2 separate regions of the Homo sapiens genome follow, and region 1 is linked to region 2. Evidence: promoter capture Hi-C in 16 types of primary human blood cells and fetal thymus (Javierre and others, 2016). All regions are on one chromosome and are shown on one strand. Each heading gives the region's core, a stretch centred on a gene start or on the middle of the fragment in contact. The rest is flanking DNA. Distances are from core to core; before and after follow the strand shown.

Evidence for each region. Contacts are between HindIII fragments. The CHiCAGO score rates a contact against its expected background, and 5 or more counts as called.
Region 1: a contact is called between a fragment that was not itself captured here and the fragment with the promoter of LINC03030 in region 2, in 1 of 17 cell types (M1 macrophages). The highest score is 6.1, in M1 macrophages.

Annotation. Positions count from the first base shown.
Region 1 is chr11:77,339,899-77,345,191 of GRCh38, reverse strand. PAK1 (p21 (RAC1) activated kinase 1) reads left to right here. Exons shown (of 15, transcript NM_002576.5): 10 at 1,261-1,373; 11 at 4,429-4,546. Among named protein-coding and RNA genes, the nearest start is that of GDPD4, 41 kb to the right of the region's middle. The HindIII fragment of the contact is 163 bases long and covers 2,315-2,477 here.
Region 2 is chr11:77,568,367-77,573,396 of GRCh38, reverse strand. It overlaps LINC03030 (long intergenic non-protein coding RNA 3030), which reads right to left and starts at 2,308. Exons shown (of 3, transcript NR_130930.1): 1 at 2,087-2,308; 2 at 1,712-1,882. The HindIII fragment of the contact is 9,547 bases long and covers 1,137-5,030 here.

The DNA of each region.
Region 1 (5,293 bases), core at 1,147-3,646, 230 kb after region 2:
CTCTCAATACACACAAACATACACACTAATCATTATACATGATAGCAAGTTGTAAGTTCCATAAGAGAGGGATAAATATGATCTTATAGGGCTTTAAAGAAGGGAAAAGGCATATTGGGTTTGGAGAATGAAGTTTCCTTTGGCCTGATACAAAAAGAGTAAGTAGCTTTTGAATGTATGGAAATGATACAGGCTGTTCCAGATGAAGAGAAGATTCTGAACAAAGGAAGGGGGACTAGATACCAGGGAGAACATGGAGTGTTCTCCATGAACACTCTCCTCTGTGAAGGAATAGAGTTGGAAGTAAAGTAGGGGCCAGATCATGAGAACTTTGAATGTTGTACTGAGAAGCATTTCTAGGCAACCAGGAGCCATGTAAGTTTTTGAACAAGGTTATCAAATGTGTACTGTGGGGGAAAATTAATCTGGCTACATGTACAGGATAACTTGACATCCCTTTTGAGGGTTCTAATCCTGATTTTGCTATTGAATAGCTATGTATGCAAGTCACATCCTCTCTGAAACACAGTTTCCCCGTCTGTTGAATCATTAGTAATATTTAGCACACAAGGTGTCTTTGAAGATTAAATGAAATAACAAATTTGAGAACACCTTATAATAGTACCTTACACATAGAAGGAATTGATACCAAGTACCTTAGAAACTAACGTATACCATATATTCATGTTGTCTGGAAATTTGTTTTTATTTCTGTAGATAGAGCTCTCATCCTCCTTTTCTCTTCTTTCTTAACCTGATCAACTCTGATTTATCTTTCTACGCCAGGTTCAGAAAGTCACTTCCCCCTTTATGAAGCCTCTATACCTAGCCAGATTGAAAGCATTCTTGGCTTTTGCCGTATTTTATGTTTCGCTAGCATTTTGTATGAGCCTCTGTTATAGCATCTCTTTTCTGTTGTGACTTTTTAAAAGTATTTTTCTACACCAAAGTTTGATTCTGAAACTTTGATGTGTATCACAGTGACCTGGAGGACTTTTTACATCACAGAGCTTCTGATTTAGTAGATTTGGGGTGGGACCCGAGGTTTTTATTTCCAACAAGCTCCCAGATGATGATGATGCTGGCTTGAGACCTCACTTTGAAGACCACTGGTCTACATAGACAAACTGTGAATTACTCGAGGGCTAAGACTGTATCTTACTCATCTTTGTTTCCTGAGTACTTAAGGTCTGGTACTTAGCAGGTGCTCAATAAATGGGAATGACTATGGTTGCACATTGAATATACTCTTGATTTCAGGTGGCCATTAAGCAGATGAATCTTCAGCAGCAGCCCAAGAAAGAGCTGATTATTAATGAGATCCTGGTCATGAGGGAAAACAAGAACCCAAACATTGTGAATTACTTGGACAGGTATGGAGTGGTGGGTCCCATCAGAGGGAAAGGGCCTTTGGGACTGATTGGTGGTGAAGCTGTTAGAGAAGAGGGCAGTGCCAGCCCTCAGAACTGCCTCCATTTATGAGTCTTCTGTGATGCTGAGCTCTCTGTATGTGACCCTGTGTAATGCTGGACACCTTTTTTGCTGGGAAATCCTTCTGTGTTAGGCTGAACTCTACCACCGTGTAGCTTCTAACAGTTGATCCTCGTACTGTTTGTTTTGCCTAAGGGAAACCTACCAACCCATCTGCCTGAGTCAAACATCTAGGTCCTTAACTCATTTTACATCCCAAATCTTTCCTTATTCTGCTCATCCTCCTGAATAACTTGTTGTTTGTTTATGTTCTCTTAAAATGCAGTGTGCAGAACTAGATGTTTCATTTGAGATCTGACCACTATGGAGAGAGTGGGACTCTTTCTAAACTCAACACAGCTTAATGATTTCATTCTTGTTTTATCTTTTAGGTTGTCTGCTTTGACTCCCAGTAAGTTTGCAGTCAACTAAAATTTCTGATTTTTTTTTTTTTTTTTACGTAAGCTTGCATTAAACTGGAAATGTGGAACTTTTTCACTATCTTCATTAAGTCCCATTTTTATTATTTTAGCCCATCATTCCAGCCCATCAAAATTTTTTTGCAAAATAGTAATAGTGGTTGTATATAATATTTGTATTGTGCTTTACTTTGTACCAAGCACTTTCATGAACAGTATCTCATTGTGAGGTAGGGTTTTTTTATCCATATTTTACAGACAAGGAAACTGAGGTTTATAGACGTTAATAACTTGTCCAAGAGTAGTAAGCCATAAAACAGCAAAGCAGTGTTTTGAATTTGAATATTCCTAGCACCAATATCTAGCACCTTTCTATTTTATCATGTTCTTTTCTCCGATACCTGAAAAAAAAAAAAAGTTAAGCTTCTTGCCCAGGGTTCAGAGACATCGTAGGTGGAGGTGAAATTGGACTAAATCTTGGACTCTAATTTCTTTACCTCTTATATTGCATGACCAGCTACCTCTTCCTGTTACTGGTAGATTTCATAAGGGCGCCTTCTTGTTCTGCATCTAAAACACTAGTAAGCTTCAGTTTCCTTAAAGAAGAAAAGAGTTGAACTTTGACATTCCCAACACTATAAAGAATAAAGCCTTCTTCTTTGAGATGGCTGTGTCTCCTTAATGTGGGTCCTGACTGGCTCTGAAGAATCCTCTGAAAGTTAGTACCTTATCATCTCTTTCAGAACTTATTATACAGAGAATATAGCTCATGCAAACTACTGAAGGCGACAGGGGTATTAGATTTTGGTTCAGGATATGGAAAAATGAAAGCTGTCAGTAAGGGTATGGCCTGTCTCACAAAATGGTGAGTTCCCCATCAGTGGATGCATCTACATGATAAAACGATGTTATTGAAGGAATTTGTGTTCTGGGAGTAGGATTAAGAGACTTATAGATTTGTTTATTAATCATATCTTTACCAGTATTCCCAGAGACTTTTACTCTGGAAATTAGAAGTAAATAATGCTATCTTTGCCCTCAAATAGTTCCTGGTCTGGTATAGAAAAAAAAAAAATACCTCTGTAAGGTCATGGAAGAGGACATTAACCTGAGCATTCAGTGAAGGTGTTGCAAATGAGGGTCTGTGGTTTTTGTGAGATGTCCCAGAGGGGAACTCCATCACATATGGATGAACTCATGGGCAGAACCCTCATGATGTAATCACCTTCCAAAGGCCCCACCTCCTAATAACATTAGTGATTAGATTTTCAACATATAAATTTTGAGGGACACAAACATTCAGACCATAGCAGTTCAAATCCCCATAGTCTTCTCTCTCAAAAGAGATTGTTGAAGAAACACTTAGTCTGTCATGTTTATTAGTCAGGACATTAAAAAATTATAAATCAGAACACAGAGTTTTATGGAAAGAGCTGTCGATTAGTAGTCAAAAAAATAGGATTCAAATCTTACCCTTGCTTGATTGCATTTGTTAAAATCTTCCAACAGTCTCCACATCTGTCCAGCAGTATTCCCAATATCAGGATGAAGATAAGATGATACCACACAGTTCAAGCCAATGCAAGAAATGTTTTTTTCCAATCCAGCTTCTTTGTCCAAGACTGGCAGAAGACTTTAGGGCTCTAGGCTCGCCTTGTTTTTATTTGTCTGATTCTATAGTAAGGAAACATTGACCAAATAGGCTAAGTGACCTTTTTATTTATCGTGTAATAGGGTTGAGTGATCCAACTCCTGAGTGAAACTATCACTTCTAACTCATGTCAGCCCATAATCTCTCTGGGGATATCTTACTAAATGGTAGTCTTGGCTTATCAGAAGGCTTTGGCTCCATAAGCCCTTGCTAAATTCATTCCATTCTTGAACCACAGACACTCAAAGTAGAGGTCAATTGTCAGCATAATGACTATGTATACAACACTTTGCAGCTTTTAAGGGGCTCCTATAAACATTATTTCGTTTAATATTTATAGTTATCTTTTATTTTTTCAGTGATTTATTTAGTAAATATTGGCATCTGCTGTGCTGGACTCTGAGGATAGAGTCTTGAACAAGACCCAATACTTGGTCTCATAGATCTCAGATCTGGTAGGACTCTCTGGGAGGTTTAGTAGCTCTCTCTTCTTTGGGTAACATGGACTCTAAATCCTATCTTTGTCAAATGTTTGGATGCTTCTAGAGGTGTGGGAATCATGTCAGTCTTTCTAATTTTAGGATGTCTTCCTTTGTGTTGTGATGAAATATAATTTTATTGTATCACTTCAAGCTAGAGATCTTAGTTCTGCCCTTTGGGGCTTCACAGAACATGTATACTTGGTTTTCTCCAGGAGCATCCTTGAGAGATTCAAAGTTAGTGATTCTGTTCCCCAGATTCTGCTTTTCCCCAAAGTAAAGAACCTTTTACTTTACTTTGTGCTAAGACGTAGTTTCACTCTGTGTATATGCTTAGCCTTTGAAACCCAGTGCTATGGCTCAGTGTACTCTGATTGTTCTCTCTCACCCTTTATCTGTATTCCTGCAGTTACCTCGTGGGAGATGAGCTGTGGGTTGTTATGGAATACTTGGCTGGAGGCTCCTTGACAGATGTGGTGACAGAAACTTGCATGGATGAAGGCCAAATTGCAGCTGTGTGCCGTGAGGTAAGGCCAAGGGCCAAGCAGTCTTGGGTAGAAAGCTGCCTCCATATTCCTGTCTCCTGAAGTTCCCTGTACAGTGAGATCTCAGCCTGGGCTCTGTGGAATTGGTAGAAATTAGTGCTGACACTGCTATCATTCCTGTATTGTACCTGTGTTTGTCATTTCTATCACCATGATTTTTTTTTTAACGATAACTTTATTCTACCCATTGTAGAAAAATTATAAAGTACTAGAAAGTATATATTGTAAAAAGTCACTCATAATTCCAGTCTTAGAGATAACCACTTGCCTAAGCACGTTATAATATATTCCTTTATCTCTTTTATCTGGGCATATATTTCAATCATTTTTATTCTGCTTTCTTGCTTTATTTATGTGCTATAAGGAAAATAAAACAGAGTAAGAAGGTAGTGATGGAGGAAGTACTATTTTAGACAAGACAGTCAGGGAAGGTTTTGCTATAGATTTGAGTAAACATCTGAATGATATATAAAAGCAAGCCAGCAAAAATCTAGGGTAAAATACTTCCAGGAAAATAAAAAAAGAAAACAAAGCTCAAATAGATACTCCCTTTCTCCTCATTGCTATTAAATGTCTAGAATTGATAATACGCTGATGTAGGAGGAAGAAAAGCCCTCCAGAAAGCCTGGACAGTGTCCTCAGGGAATAACCACATTTCATTTCCATTAGAGCAAAAAGATGAAGGGAATATTCAGAGACATTGAGGATATTGGGTGTTTTGCTGATGAC
Region 2 (5,030 bases), core at 1,059-3,558:
CTTGCATTATTTCAGCTACAAATGCCAACTTATTGCCTGACTCTAAAGTTAAAGGCAGTCTAAACCTGTGGATAATATCTCTTAACAGTACTTTAGTCACTTCTCATGCTTTTTCTGTTTTGATGGGGAAAGCTTCAACCCACCCTGAAAAGGTGCAAACAAACACTGGCATGTACTGATAGCCTCCAGCATGGGGCAGTTCGGTAAAGTCTATAAGTAAGTTTTCACCAGTAGTAGCTGAACTGAAACCGGGAGCAACTCCGGTCTGGGTTCGTCAGTACCCAGTTCCCCAAAAGGCTGTACAGGGTGTCTGCAAACATTTAGAACGGCTCTATAAATATGGGATCTTAATCCGATGCCAGTCCCCCGGAATACTCCACTTTTGCCAGTATGAAAGCCGCTGCTGGGACCAAGGTCTGATGAGTAGATACCGGTGCAAGATTTGCATGCCGTAAACCGGGCCATGGTGACCATCCATCCCGTGGCACCAAATCCATATACTTTAATGGTACTTATTCCAACAAGTGCCACTAGGTTTACAGTCTTAGACTTAAAGGACGCTTTCTTTTATATTCGCTTAGCACGAGTTAGCCCATATTTGCATTTCAATGGGACAAGGAAGCTATGCAACTCATGTGGACTAGGCTCCCACAAGGGTTCAAAAACTCTCCTACAATCTTTGGGGAAACACTGGCTTCAGACCTCAAGGCCTATACCCCGCCAAATGATAACTGTGCTTGTTACAGTACACGGGCGACCTTCTTTTGGCAGCCCCAACCCAAGAGGACTATTATCAGAGAACTCAGGACCTCCTTCATCTCCTGTGGAAAGCAGGTTACAAAGTATCTAAAAAGAAAGCCTAAATTTGCCATAAAGAGGTTAAATATCTAGGTTTCGTAGTGAGTCACGGGGAATGCTGGCTTGGCTATGAGTGAAAACAAGACGTTTGTGCACTACCAATCCCAACCACCCGATGCCAAATAAGAGAATTTTTAGGGGCAGCAGGAATTTGCCCCATCTGGATTCCAAATCTTTCCTTGATGGCTGTGCCGTTATATGAAGCCACAAAAGGAGGACAAAAAAACCCTCCTTTGGGAGACTAATCAGAAAATGCATTCCAACAAATCAAGGAAGCTTTAACTTAGGCCCTAGCCTTAGGACTACCAGATATAACTAAGCCTTTCTATATGTTCATGAACAAAAAGGAATGGCTATAGGAGTTCTGACTCAAGTTGTAAGGTCATAACATCACCCAGTAACATACTGATCCAAACAATTGGATTCTGTGATGCTAGGATGGCCTCCCTGTGTTAAGGCATTAGCCGCCACCACCTTGCTAAACACAAGAGGCTAGCAAATTGACTCTAAGACAGCAGTTAACCATTCGGGAGCCACACTCAGTCATAACTCTGATGGACCGACTCCCAGTTCCTGTGTACCTAATTGGGGTGACGAGCCACTATCACCATCTCCAGTTTCCTTAGTTGGGGTGGCAAGCCATTCTCGCCACCTCCAGTTTCCTTTTCCTAACCAACTTAGTGAGCCACTCTTGCTTCCTGTGTTGATTGGGGTGAGAGTTTCATCCAAATTGACAGCCGCTCTCATCGCCCCCAGTCCCTCTGGGTCGGACTATTAGGCATACCCCGGGAGGTGATCAGGCTCCCTTTCCGTCCTTACAGGATGGGTCCTGCCTTGGGCCCCAAAACCTTACCATGATTCCTGAAGTGCGCTGTTTCTAGAATCATCCTGTAGCTCCTCTCAGGATCTGTTGCGCTGCTGGGTAGGGGTGCTGGGTCACGGAGAGCTGATTTCCCCTCTGGGCTGAAGTTCTCCCGGCGGCACCTGGGGTCACAGGTCTCCCTTGGCCCAGGGCTCCAGCCCCCTATAGGCAAAGGAGACAGTAAGCCTGTCATCTCCACTCCTGGCTGGCTTGCCAAGAAATGTTGCAGGAAACTGAGGAATGGCGAGACCAATATGAGAGTACAGGAAGATATTTATTTTTAGGTACGCACTGGCTGAGTGGATTTATATCCAAAAACCTGAGCATTAAACAAAGACAGAGCAGGGTTTTTATAAGTGGACTTACAAAAGTAAAACAAAAGCAGTTAATCATATAGTGCATAACTTGTGGCCTTGCATAGCTGGTGGCCTTGGAGCTGTGTCAAAAGAAAATCAAGAACTGGCTAAATACAGACATTTGTAAAACATAATCATGCTTAAGAAGCCAGGGAAAGAAGTAACAGTAAAGGAATTTGTCTTTCTCTTTTTTTTTTTCCTTCAACCTTGTTCTGGAGGGGAGGGATGTCTGCAGCCCATTCCTTTGGCCTTGGCTTCTCAAACAGCATTATCTTATAACTGTCCTTGAAGTGAGCTTGCTAGGCCGAGGAAAACTTGTTCTTTTCTTTTTAACCCTTGCCTTGCCTGTTACTTTTCTTGGAGTGAATGAATGCATATTTATTTTTAAATTTCTGCCTCAATCTCAGCACTTTGGGAGGCTAAGGTGGGTGGATCACGAAGTCAGGAGATTGAGACCAGCCTGGCCAACATGGTGAAACTCTGTCTCTACTAAAAATACATAAGTTAGCCAGGCGCGGTGGCACCCTCCTGTAGTCCCAGCTACTTGGGGGGCTGAGGCAGGGGAATTGCTTGAACCTGGGAGGTGGAGGTTGCAGTGAGCCGAGACTGTGCCACTACACTCCAGCCTGGCAACAGAGGAAGACTCCGCCTCAAAAAAAAAAAAAAGAAAAGAAAATGGTTAAAATGGAAATTGTTATGTTTATTTTACCACAGTTTTTTTTTTTTTTTTAAAGAAATGAGCTATCAAGCAAAGCAAAGACATGGATAAATGTTGAATGTATATCAGTAAGTCAAAGAAGCAAGTCTGATGGCTTTTTACTATATAATTCTTTTTTTTTTTTTTTTTTTGAGACGGAGTCTGGCTCTGTTGCCAGGCTGGAGTGCAGTGGCATGATCTCGGCTCACTGCAACCTCCACCTCCTGGGTTCGAGCGGTTCTCCTGCCTCAGGCTCCCGAGTAGCTGGGACTACAGGGGCCTGCCACCATGCCTGGCTAACTTTTGTATTTTTAGCAGAGACGGCGTTTCACCATGTTAGCCAGTATTGTCTCGATCTCTTGACCTCGTGATCCACCCGCCTCAGCCTCCGAAAGTGCTAGTATTGCAGGTGTGAGCCACCGTGCCTGGCCGTGATTCTACTTATATACATTATGAAAGGTAAAACTACAGAGATGAAAAACAAGTTGGTAGGAATTCAGTAAGGAGGATTGAATAGGTAAATCACAGGACATTTTAGGATGGTGACATTATTTTGTGTAATACCATAATGATAGTGACATGATACATGACACCTTGCATTTGTCAGAACCCTTAGAACCTAAAGTATGCAAATTTAAAAAAATCATTTAGGAGCTCAGATAGATGATCCCAAGATGAAATAAAGAACGTGACAAAATAATCTAACTGTATTATGAACAAAACTCAATGAAGGAAATGGGAGAAAATTGCTGACCTAAGTAACTTTGGAAATGGGTGGATCCTGTAAAACTCAATGCAAAAGGAGTACAGACTAGGGAGCAATATGGCCAAGTAGAGGCCTCCAGAAATTGTCCTCCCTGCAGGAACACCAAATCGAACAACTATTCACACAAAAAACACCTTCATTACAACCAAAAATCAGGTGAGTAATCATAGTACCTGGTTTTAACATCACATTAAGGAAAGAGGCACTGAAGAGGGCAGGAAAAATAGTCTCAAATTGTCTACAGCACCCTTCTCTGATCGCCTAGCTGTGGCTGCATAGCACAGAGAGTCTGTGCACTTGTGGGAGGGAGAGTGCAGTGATTATGGGACTTTGCATTAGAGCTCAGTGCTGCCCTGTCACAGCAGAAAACAACACAAGGCAGAACTCAGCTGGAGGCCAAGGAGGGAGCATTTGCATCAGCCCTAGCCAGAGGCATATTACCCATCCCAGTGGTCAGAACTTGACCTCTGGCAAGCCACCACCATTTGGTAAAGGGCTCTGGGGTCCTAAGTAAACTTGAAAGGCAGTCTAGGCCCTAAGGATTGCAATTGCTGGGCAAGTCCTGGTGCTGTGCTGGGCTTGGAGCCAGGGTACTCGTACTCAGGTACATGTAACATGTACATGGAGCCAGGGAGGCCAAGGCAGTGCTTGCATCATCCCTCTCCCAACCTCAGGCAGTGCAGTTCACAGCTCTGGGAGAGACTCCTTCCCTCTACCTGAGGAGAGAAGGGAGAGTAAAGAGGACTTTGTCTTGCAGCTTGGATACCTGCTCAGCCACAGCAGGATAGGGCACCAGACAGAGTCCTGAGGACCCCATTCCAGGGTCTAGCCATCACATGACATTTCAAGACACACCCTGGGCCAGAAGGGAACCAACTGCCTTAAAGGGAAGGAATAATCAGCGGTGGTAACCAGGCATTATTCCTCCTGGGCCTTGGGTAAAACTCAGAGCTGTGTTGCCTTTAGATGTGACCCAGCACATTCCTAGCTGTGGTGGCTACTTGAAGAAAGAAGACGGAGGAGTAAAGGGCATTTTGTCTTATAGCTTGGGTACCAGCTCAGCCACAGTGGGATAGAGCACCAAGCAGGCTCTTGGTGTCCCCAGTTCCAGGTCTTGGCTCATGGATGGCATTTCTGGACCTGCCCTGGGCCAGAGGGGAGTCCTTTTCCCTGAAGGGTGAGTCCCGGGCCTCACAGCATTCACCGCAAGCTGATTGAAGAGCCCTTGGACGTTGAGTGAACATTGGTGGTAGCCTGGCAGTACTTGCCACGGGCTCAGGGCAGCAGTAGCCATGAAGAGAGACTCCTGTTTGTGGAAAGGGGAGGGAAGAGGGGGAAGGACTTTGTTTTGTGGCTTGGATGCCAGCTCAGCAGCAGTAGATAAGATTTCTAAGGTTCCTGGCTCCAGACTCTGGCTCCCAGTGGCATCTTTGGACACACCCAGGGCCAGGGGGACCTTACCACCCTAAAAGGAAGGACACAAGCCTGCTG